2 separate regions of the Homo sapiens genome follow, and region 1 is linked to region 2. Evidence: promoter capture Hi-C in human tissues and cell types (Jung and others, 2019). All regions are on one chromosome and are shown on one strand. The core of a region is centred on a gene start or on the middle of the fragment in contact, and the rest is flanking DNA. Distances in the headings are between cores, read along the strand shown.

Evidence for each region. The method cuts DNA at HindIII sites, captures the fragments that hold promoters and counts their contacts. A contact is called where the count stands out against the background at its distance.
Region 1: a contact is called between a fragment that was not itself captured here and the fragment with the promoter of MGLL in region 2, in 1 of the 25 tissues and cell types used here (spleen).

What each region holds. Positions count from the first base shown.
Region 1 is chr3:128,044,433-128,049,998 of GRCh38, forward strand. All of the region lies in intron 1 of LOC102723759 (a long non-coding RNA gene), which reads right to left. Among named protein-coding and RNA genes, the nearest start is that of SEC61A1, 5.2 kb to the right of the region's middle. The HindIII fragment of the contact is 5,623 bases long and covers 1-5,125 here.
Region 2 is chr3:127,819,417-127,824,508 of GRCh38, forward strand. MGLL (monoglyceride lipase) reads right to left here and starts at 3,099. Exons shown (of 8, transcript NM_007283.7): 1 at 2,893-3,099; 2 at 2,278-2,422. The coding sequence starts at 2,902. RefSeq lists a silencer at 3,541-4,060. The HindIII fragment of the contact is 31,525 bases long and covers 1-5,092 here.

The DNA.
Region 1 (5,566 bases), core at 1,064-3,563, 220 kb after region 2:
ATAACCACCAAGCATTGTCTACAGATGATCTGTTCACTATTGTTAATCCTGTGTGGTGGGAATACAGTGTTCATCTTATTAATCTTTAAACTTTTCTGTACTTTTAACCTCATTAAGAAGATCAGAGAGGTAATGAAAACAGCACTGAAAAAAAACAGATCAGTTTCCAGCACAGAAAAGGAAAAAATACAAATTGTTCAGTCTCTCTCAGATCCAAAACCTAATACCTGGATGAGTATCTGGTGTAATTCTCACATTAACACCCTGTGCCACAGGTTTTTGTATTTGGGTTAAGCAAATAAGTAATGGTTAGTTTTGTATCGAATTGGCTAGGCTAGAGTAACCAGTTATTCAGTCAAACACTAACTTAGGTGTTGCCTTGAAGATATTTTTGTAGATGTCAATTACCTTAAAAAATATTATCTTCAATAACATGGGTGGACCACATCCAATCAGCTGAAAGGCCTTAGAAAATGGAGGTTTCCCTGAAGGAGAAGAAATTCTTCCTGTGGGCACCTCATCAGCTCCTGCCCAATTTCCCGGACTGTCGGCCCTACTGCATGAAATTTCAGATACACCCAACCAGACTTCACAATCATATTATGTCAATTCCTTGAAATACACCTATTTTTCTCTCTCTTTCTATTTCTCTACCATATATATCTCTCTGATATATATACCGCCGGCCCTCCATATCTGTGCTGCATCTGCAGATTCGGCCAACCATAGTTTGAAAATATTTTTTAGGCTGGGAAGGGTGGCTCACGCCTGTAATCTCAGCACTTTGGGAGGCCCAGGCAGGAGGATCACCTGAGGTCACAAGTTCAAGACCAGCCTGGCCAACACGGTGAAACCTCGTCTCTACTAAAAATACAAAAATTAGCTGGGCGTGGTGGTGGGTGCCTGTAATCCCAGCTACTTGGGAGGCTGAGTCAGGACAATTGCTTGAACCTGGGAGGTGGAGACTGCAGTGAGCTGAGATCATGCCACTGCACCCCAGCCTGAGCAGAGCAAGACTCTGTCTCAAAGAAAAAAAAAGTTTTTTAAAAAACAATGAAAAATAAAACATAAATACAAAGAGCTATTTATATAGCATTTACATTGTTAGATGTAAGTAATGTAGAGATCATTTAAAATATACAAGAGGATGTGTGTAAGTTATAACCAAATACTACACCATTTTATATCAGGGACTTGAGCATCCACAGATTTTGATATCTGCAGAGGGTGGGGATGCTAGGGTTGGGGGGTCCTGGAACCAACATCCCACGGATACCAAGGGTCGACTGTATGCATCTCCTACTACTGGTTCTGTTTCTGTGGTAGAACCCTGACTGACACAATCTGCCATGCCCTGGATGTTTCTTGGGTATTCTCTGATCTCCAGAATGGGAAAAGCCTCCTGAATTCTTCCCTGGGAGTCAGGCCTGCCTGGCTTCCTTTTCTTTTTTTCCTCCTGGAGAGCTTCTATCTCAGAAATCTGGAAGGCCTCTATCTCTGAAGGGCACCATTTTCCTTCATCTGTCTAGCTCGTCATGCATTTGCTAGATATTAACAACTGTAATGAAGCCTAGCTTCTCCAATGATAGCTTTATTGCTAGCCTTACTCTTTGTTTTAGCCATAGGGAGCTATCTCTGTCCAATCCCAGAAATTTACCATATTCCCTCCCCTTTCTCCTTCTCAAGTCCCACTTTCTCTTCACCACCTGTTAGACAGACTGAGAGCTGTCTCCCAATACCCATTCTCCCCTTGTTCCATGGCAGTAGCCAGCCCATGACTTTACAGGATAAAGACTAGATTTTTCAAACTCCTTTTCAGATAAGTGCAACTAGGTTATAGCCAAAGGAATAGAATAGATGCAATGTGTCCAACTTCCAGGTTGTGCATTAACAGAAGGGCAGTCCCACCTCTCCCTTTTCTTTCATCTTCCAAATGGCCAAAATATAGACACAATGATGGGCCATACTGGATTTTGTGGGCCACAGCACCACCCAAAAGGGAGTGGAGAAATAAGAGAGAGCAAGCTTCAGACCTATACTGCTACCTGGACTTCCATCTGGTTTATGATACTGATTTGTTTTTTTTGTTTTTTTTTTTTAATCTGCAGCAACGGCTAATTTTTTTTTTTTTTTTTTTTTTTTTTTTGAGATGGAGTCTCGCGCTGTTGCCCAGGCTGGAGTGCAGTGGCGCAATCTTGGCTCGCTGCAACCTCTGCCTCCCAGGTTCAAGCGATTCTCCTGCCTCAGCCTCCTGAGTAGCTGGGATTACAAGTGCGTGCCACCACGCCCGGCTAATTTTTGGTCTCCAACTCTGACCTCATATCTGCCCGCTTCAGCCTCCCAAAATGCTGGGGTTACAGGCGTGAGCCACCGTGCCCAGCTAACAGCCGGATTTATATCCTAACCAACACACCAACTGGCCAAAAGAATAACCAGCTCCCCCAACCCGCTGTCTTCCCCAACCTAATTATTATATCGGATTGTCTTGTTACCTGGCTGTTCCTCCTCCTTCCCACCCTTAAATATGGTTGACCCCCTCTCCCACTGGGTCTCTCCTTGAATCTGGTCTCTCTATGCTTTCTCCCTTAGAAATCTCATCCACTCTCATGGAAAACGACTTAACATGCTTCTAATCCTAACTCATTTCTGAGCACCAGGTCTGCTTATTGGACTTCTCATTGATCAATTTCCAGTACCTCAAACTCTGCATGTTTAAAATAAAATTCACTTTCCTCTCTCTCACACACACACACAAACACACACACACACACTCACCATGGGGGTAAGTAGGCAACCTGTTCTCGATTTCCTTATTTAGGTAAATGAAATAAATGACACCCCCATCCTGCCAAGAACCCAGGCTTAAAACTACAGCAGAGGCCACAAATTCAAATGCTTAGAGACCAGGCAAGAGGCAAGGGACAAGTGGTAACTGTGGGGAGCCAAAGAGCTGCTGACCAATCTTAAAAAAGCAGCCACAACTTACTGATTTCTGGCATGTAGGAATATTAGCCTAGTGCTGTCGGGTCTTCTGATCTTCCAAGAGAAGTAAAAAATCTAGATTTTATGTTTTATGTGATCTCTCTAGATTTTACAAACAAAACAAGAAGTCATCTTGAACTGGTCAATATGTAAATCAAAAATTTAAAAACATATCTCCTATTTCTAAATAAATATCATAAAATGACAATGTAACTTGCAGCAAAAATAATTTGACAGATCTTTCTAGTATGTCTAAATCATTTCTTGGTTTTTGGAAGTTATGAATCTTTTGATACAGTTGTCACTAGATTTTGCCCCTGTATGGAGTGATGATTTGACATAGGAAGCAACATCAAATTGTTCCAACAACTTCCTCATTAAATGGATAATCATTAAATGAATTAAGCAGAGAATTTCCTTAACATCAATGATACTGTTTTTAGTGTTGAATCCTCAGTTTCTTATTAATAGCAATTAAATTTAAACATTTTATAGACTATAATAAAGTCTAAGAACATACAGAACTGATTCAATATCTGTTATTGACTAAGTCACACAAATCACTTATTGAAATATCTTTTAACTTACTGGCTTATTCACTATGTTCTGTTCACTCTCAATTCACGGAGCTTCACAAACCAGGGGGCTTTATTTCAAGATTCAAAAAATTGAAAGGGCTTAAAAGTTTATTACATTTTTCACTTTTGTCACCAAATACATTGATTTATTAGAAAAGCCAATAATTTTTCTCTTGGAATTGATACTTCACTTTTTTTTTCAAACAGGATACCTATTTTTTCTTATCCATAATAACTTCCACTTGTTTCAAACTTCCCTTTGTTTACATATGTCCAACTGCTTTACAGTTTATTGAAATAATGTCAGCTCTAATAGCTAAAATATGTTTTCTTATAAAGCTAAAATAAATACTGCTGGGCACGGTGGCTCACGCCTATAATCCCAGCACTTTGGGAGGCAGAAGTGGGCAGATCACTTGAGGTCAGAAGTTTGAGACCAGCCTGGCCAACATGGCAAAACTCCATCTCTACTAAAAATACAAAAATTAGCCAGGTGTGGTGGCGCACGCCTGTAATTCCAGCTACTTGGAAGGCTGAGGCAGGAGAATCACTTAAACTCAGGAGATGGAGGTTGCAGTGAGCTGAGATCGCGCCACTGCACTCCAGCCTGGGCAACAGAGCGAGACTTCATCTCAAAACAAAACAAAAAAACTCTAAATACTGACATCTCCATTAAAATATCATTTATTAAGGCCCAAACTCTTTAAAATATATTTTTCAAACAGCCACTGCATTTGTTTCCATTACAGTGAACATACAGAACTTACTGACTTCCACCACAGCGGGTATATAGCTCAGGGGTAGAGCATTTGAATGCAGAACTTACCGACTTCCACATTGCTTTTGCAGATCTAGCACTGCAGGCTTGTCCATCAAGGTTCAATTTGCATTACTTAATGTAGTTATTTCTGCTACTTGGTGTGTGGTAGTAAATATAGTTTATCAAGAAAAGCATGAGTTCCCTGACTTGTATTGGTTTATCCAAAATTAAATTTGATAATTTAGTGCCAAATTAAAACATCCACATTTTTCCTAAACTTTTGGCTGAAACTCCATACTCTCTCTAGAATTACATTAGCATTTTTTGTATAAAATCCAATGACAATTTTCTTATTTGGTACAATATTCCAATTACATCTTTATGGAACTATATCTCAAATGTAATTCTTTCTTGTGTACTCATAATAAAGACAATACAGTGTACTAAATGTTTCCCAGTGTCATAAGATCAACAAAAACCATTATATTCAAAAACCTTTAAATTTGCATTTTAATTATTAAAACACATTCACATAAAAAAATGAAGCTTCTTAGATGATGATTTTAAATACACCTCTTTGATTTACATATTTTTCAAAAAGCTGTTTTCTCATTTGGGTACATCTGGTTTTTAACAGGTGGGTCCAGAATACAATGGCGTGTTCATATCAATATTAATCCTTTTGAAGTTCTAGTAAATGTGTGTGAAATGCTCAATTATACTTAACTATATAATAGTGCTAAAAATTCTGACAGTACCTTCTAAATCTTTTTTTTTTTTTTTTTTTTTTTTTGAGACAGAGTCTCGCTCTGTTGCCCAGGCTGGAGTGCAGTGATGAGATCTCGGTTTACTGCAACCTCCACCCCCCAGGGTTCTAGCCATTCTCATGTCTCAGCCTCCTGAGTAGTTGGGACTACAGGCACGCACCACCATGCTCAGCTAATTTTTTATTTTTAGTAGAGGCGAGATTTCACCATGTTGGCCAGGCTGGTCTCGAACTCCTGGCCTCAAGTGATCTGCCCACCTTGGCTTCCCAAAGTGCTGGGATTTCATGAGCCACCAAGCTTGGCCCTAAATCTTTTTGATTGCTTTATCCTCACTCTGATAACCTTTTTGGGAGTTCTAAGTTTTCAAATACTTAATTTATGAAACTGATTATATTCTTTTAAGTTCTTTTCTCATCGATAATCACAATTTTTCTTCACTTGCACAAGCTTTAAGAGCATTCTGATGAATATATGTTTAA
Region 2 (5,092 bases), core at 1,849-4,348:
TCTCTATGAGAAAGATAGCAGAGGCGGGGCTGGAGATGAGGTGCTCTTAACCCAGGTTTTGCCCACAGTTGGTACAGTAGTGGGGGAGGGTTCAGTCTCCTCTTTTTTTGCCCCTTGCTTTTCCTCCCTTCTTTCTTCCTAACTGGGAGGAGACAGGATTGCACAAAGCGAGGCCCTAGTTTTGCTGAAGAGGGGTAAAAAGCCTGGGGGGAAAGATTGAAGCCCTGGTGACTTGAGGTCCCCTCCCTCTTCCTAAAAGCAGAGTGAATGATTCTGTGCAGGCAATAATAATAATACTTATTATAATGATGCTGCGGGGGTCTCCCAGATCATGCAAGAGGGCAGGCAGGCTGAGCAGCTGGTCTCGGTTATGAAGATACAGAGGTGTTTCATGCTGGCTGGCACAAACCTCTGCCCTGAGCCCCCACCCTAGGACCCCCAAGACTGCCCCAAGATCCAGCAAGCACAGGGTTAACATGAGTCATGGCAAGGGGCCTCCAGGACCTCTGCATCATCTCCAGGGGCTGGAGGCAGGGCAGGACAGGTAGGTAGGACCTTGGCCAGCCCCTTCCTCTTTGGTAAACTGAGGATAACACTATGGAAAGTGTTCATACATGCTCATGGTTCTGTTGCTCTTTCTATTTCAGTGCTCCTGCCCTCAATATTTTTTTCCCTTAACCTTTTCTAGACCCATAGGTTTCTTCCAAATTCTGGGGCCGAACTGCCTCAACCATCCACCTCTGTTCTTAAGCCCATCAGCACCCACCACAAGGCGGACGCTGACATCCAAGAGGCAGCTCAGTTTAAATTAAGAAGTTGAGTTATCATCTCTAACTAGAGCAAAAGCAACGGAGCAGAGAGGGCTCCCTGCAATGCAACTTCAGCACAGAGATTGTGAAAACCACCCGCAGGCGAAGGGAGGGCAGGGCAGCCAACTTGACCGTTTCTAACCCACTCACCCACCACCCTCCCCCTGTGCCAGGACTGCAGAACCTCTTTATTTTTGTTGACTTCGAACTAGGACAACCTCACTACTTAACCAACAAAGCCCCCCAAGTCTGAGACTCAGACATTAAAAACTTCTATTTTCAATTATTTGTCTTCTTTCTGTATATTGATCAAATTACCACAAACCACTAATCTGTTAGAAATTAATCCAAGATTGAGCAATTCTACAGCCAGTTAAGTCAGAGTGGAGAATTAATGATTAATTAGCATCATAATGCTCAACAACCCCCCCACTTCCTCTAATGCGTATGCACGTACAGACACATTCTTTAAGAAATGTATTACCAGAACTGGTAGGAACTCTTCTCAGCACGTTACCCACTTGAAAACACTAGAGAGAAACCATAGCCAGTCTGTGTAGCTGCCCTGAAGCTATGACTCTATGCCGGGTTTTAAAAGTCCATATCTCTGTGTTTTTAACGTGCAGCTCCCTGGATCATAGATACCTTGATGAAGACAGAGAAGAAATTTTACACCTGTGTGAGGGTTGGGTGATTACTGGAGCACAAAGAGAGACATAATCCAACCACACAATGATCCCTAGGAGACAAGAGGCCTACAAAACAGGTAAAATGTCCCTGGAACAGGAAATGTTCTTGTCACCAGGCCAATTGGTTACCACAAATAAATTCTTTTTCCAAATAACACAAACAAGCAGGGTTTTCCTGCTTCATCCAAGAGGAGGGAGCAGCAGCAGGAGACCAGCTGTCTTGTGTATAGTCCCAATGTTTGCTTCTAATAGCAAGACAAATCCTTGATGGAAAATGTACAAAGTAATTGAGCTGGCAAGGAATCAGAAGGAAATACCCAGGCCCCTTTCTTCCTGGTGACACATGTATGCCATCTTCAGAAGCTCAGAAACAAGCAGGAAAAGTGAGCAAAGGTGAAGATATATGTATTACTTCGGGTTTCTCATCCATCTAGGGGATTTTCCTTAATTGTCGGGTTTGATTTTAAATGAATGCCTGTACAACCGGAAATCAACTCCAGTACAAAAAATAAAGTCATGTGGAATTTTTGAAAATTGCCATACGGTAGGATCCATATCTGAGTTGTTATAATGAAAAAAGAATTCCTGCTTCTTAAATTTAAAAATTATAAAGTATACATTTTAGCTTTGTTAACATTGCTCAGCCTAACATTAAAACGGCAGGGGAAGTAGGTCATAGAGAAAGCGGCCCCGCCCCAGATGGCACATGATAACGACCAGAGGAGAAGCAGGGGCCATGCTCCCCTGTCACCTGGGGTGACTTTCTGGGGAAGACTTACTTGGGTGTGCCTGTGGGTTTCCAGTACCTGCAGAAGAGGTACTGTCCGTCTGCATTGACCAGGTGAGGGAGGTCCTGGTAGGGAATGCTCTGCGGGGTCCGCCTGGGGGAACTTTCCTCTGGCATGCTGGAAGGGTCTTCAGGTCCTAGAAGGAAAAGTGACATATTCCAAAGTCAGAAATATCTCAAGAACATGTATGGATAGGAGAGAAAAGTCTAGTTCAGAGTCAGTAACATTTTTTTAAAAGCAGTTTAAAAAACCCCTCTGTTTCAAAGGTTTAAAACATACATACATTTCTTGCAAACCTCTCCAAGACTGAAAAATCCCATTTGTTCTTAAGAAAATGCTCACTTTATTTTTTAAGTGCCTCATTACAGTTTTTCCCCCTTCCCATCTGTGTTTATTTTAAATCATTTCAGGAAACTTCATCTTAAAGACTATTTTAGCTGTAATCAAGTGGAAATTATAGTCAGCTCTATGGGTACAAAGACCCAGCTGCAAGAAGACCCATCTATCTTAAAATCTCCAAGGAACAGTTTCAAGTGGGCACAATAATGAGGTGGATGATACTCAGATTATTCCTCCCATCTGAAATTCCAAGGATACATGACAAACCTGTTTCCATTATGTGCTGGCGTTTGCATTCCACAACCACGACAGCCTGGAGAATCAGAACCAGGCAAATCGGGCTGTTCCCTCATCTGGGCGGCCCCAAGGCAGCAGGAAGGCAGCTCCGAGCCCTCTTCCCGCACCCAGACCCTGCCTTTCGGGCTGGGGCGCTCAGCCGGGAGCCTGCTTCCAGCTCCCACCGGCAGGCTCTCCGGGGCTCCCCTCCCTCCCCAGGGCGGGGAGCGGCGCTGCGATTCTCCACTACTAGTTCATGTCATCACTTTTCCTAAACAAATCGCTAGAGGGGCTCGGAGAAGGGAGGGGCCCGGGAAACTGGGAAACTAGCTCCGCGCACACCGAGGCACCTCGCAGACGCACAAATGCGGGTGCCCAAGGCAAAGTCGCCCCCAAGGCTTCTCACAAACTTTGCTTCCTGTGCGTCTCCGACAGCACAGGACACGTAGCCCCGAAGCTGTCATCGGAAATGCCGCTGGGAAAACCGGGTGGGCTTCGCCGGGTGTCTGCACCGGGGAAGGTGGGGACTAGAAAGATGGAGTTGATGGGGACAAGTTGGTTTGGGGGCTGGTGCGAAGGAGCAGGGAGGGCGCGCGCGCGCGCACACGCGCGCACACTCGGACACGCGCGCACACACACCGTGCACACACACACACGCACACATGGGTAGCGGGAGCCCACGCCGGGCGTGTCCGGGACCCCAGTGCTGCTCCCCACCCCTGACGGCGGCACTGGCGGGCTGGGGCAGGGGCCGGGAGGCAGTTACCGGGGCCACGAGCGCCGCTGTCGCGTTCCCCGAGCGCAGCGGATCCTCGTTTGCGGCGGGCCAGGGCCGGGACGAGCTGCGCGCGACCGGCTTCGCGGCGACAGGGTGCGGCGTCTGCGCCGCCACTTTATCCCTGGGCCGGCTCGGCGGCGGGGGCGGCCCGAGGTGGGTGGGGACGCGCGGGACCCGGCGGGCGGCGGGCGGCGCGGGGAGGCGGCGCCCGGGGCCCACGTGTGCCCGGCCCGCGGGGAGGAGCGGGGGCGCCGCCCGCCGACCCAGCCACGCACTCCTCTCCTCCGCGCCTCGTGGACAGCCGCGCCCCGGGGTGGCCGCCCGAGGACTGTCAGGGAGGCCTGAACTGAGCTGGGTTCATGGGAGCCTCAGCGCGGGAGGACACACCACACCCACGGGCACACGCGCGCACACAGACCCACAGGCACCACACGTACACAGACAACTCGCGCAGGGCCGCACACTCACCACACGTGTACACATGTGCACTCCCAAAGTCACTACACTGCACGCAGGGACATACAGACACACATCCCAGAGATACCACATGCATACAGACACACACAGACCACACATGCATGCACACACACAAGCCGAGACATAGGCACAGACAACCCACAGAGACACAGAGGTGCACAGACATATGCAGACTATACACCTGGCCCCCACATAGACACAGACACACTCACATCATACACACACAGTCGCACACAGACACACTCACACTTCATTGCAGTCAGACACATACAATGCTGGAGGGGCAATTAACCGGTCGTGGTGGCATGCGCCTGTAGTCCCAGCTACTCAGGAGAATCGCTTGAACCCGGGAGGCAGAGGTTGCAGTGAGCCGATACCACACCATTGCACTTCAGCCTGGGTGACAGAGTGAGACTCCATCTCGGGGAAAAAAAAATGCTGGAGGGGGTCCACTTGACTCTAGGGTAGTGTAAAAGCAGATGGTGCATGGCTACAAATGCCTTGTCCCTTCCTGGCAATCCCCAGCAACTCTCCCGTTCCCAGCGGCTGTGACCCCCAGATAAAACCTCTGGTGCATCTACACAGGCCAGGGCACAGTCTGAGCTCTGTCCAGTATAACTAGCAACGTGGCCGTGGAGGGTAAGGCCACTGGACTGAGACTCCACACCACCTGGGTTGAACATTAGCTCCTCCGCTTGCTCTTTGAGCCTCAGTCTACCTACCTTCAACCTGTGAGTGATATACCTATGCCCCAGTGGAGTGTCCCTGTCTCACACTGACCTCAAGAGGCCTTCCTGTCTTTCTCCGCAAAAAATTCTACACCATAGCAGCGTTGAGGACTGTGTCTCAGCGTCACACTGTGTGTGTCCAAGGAGGCCCAAGTTGCTACAGAGCCTGTGGTCTAACTTGAGAAATAAAACAACAGCCTTTGAGCAG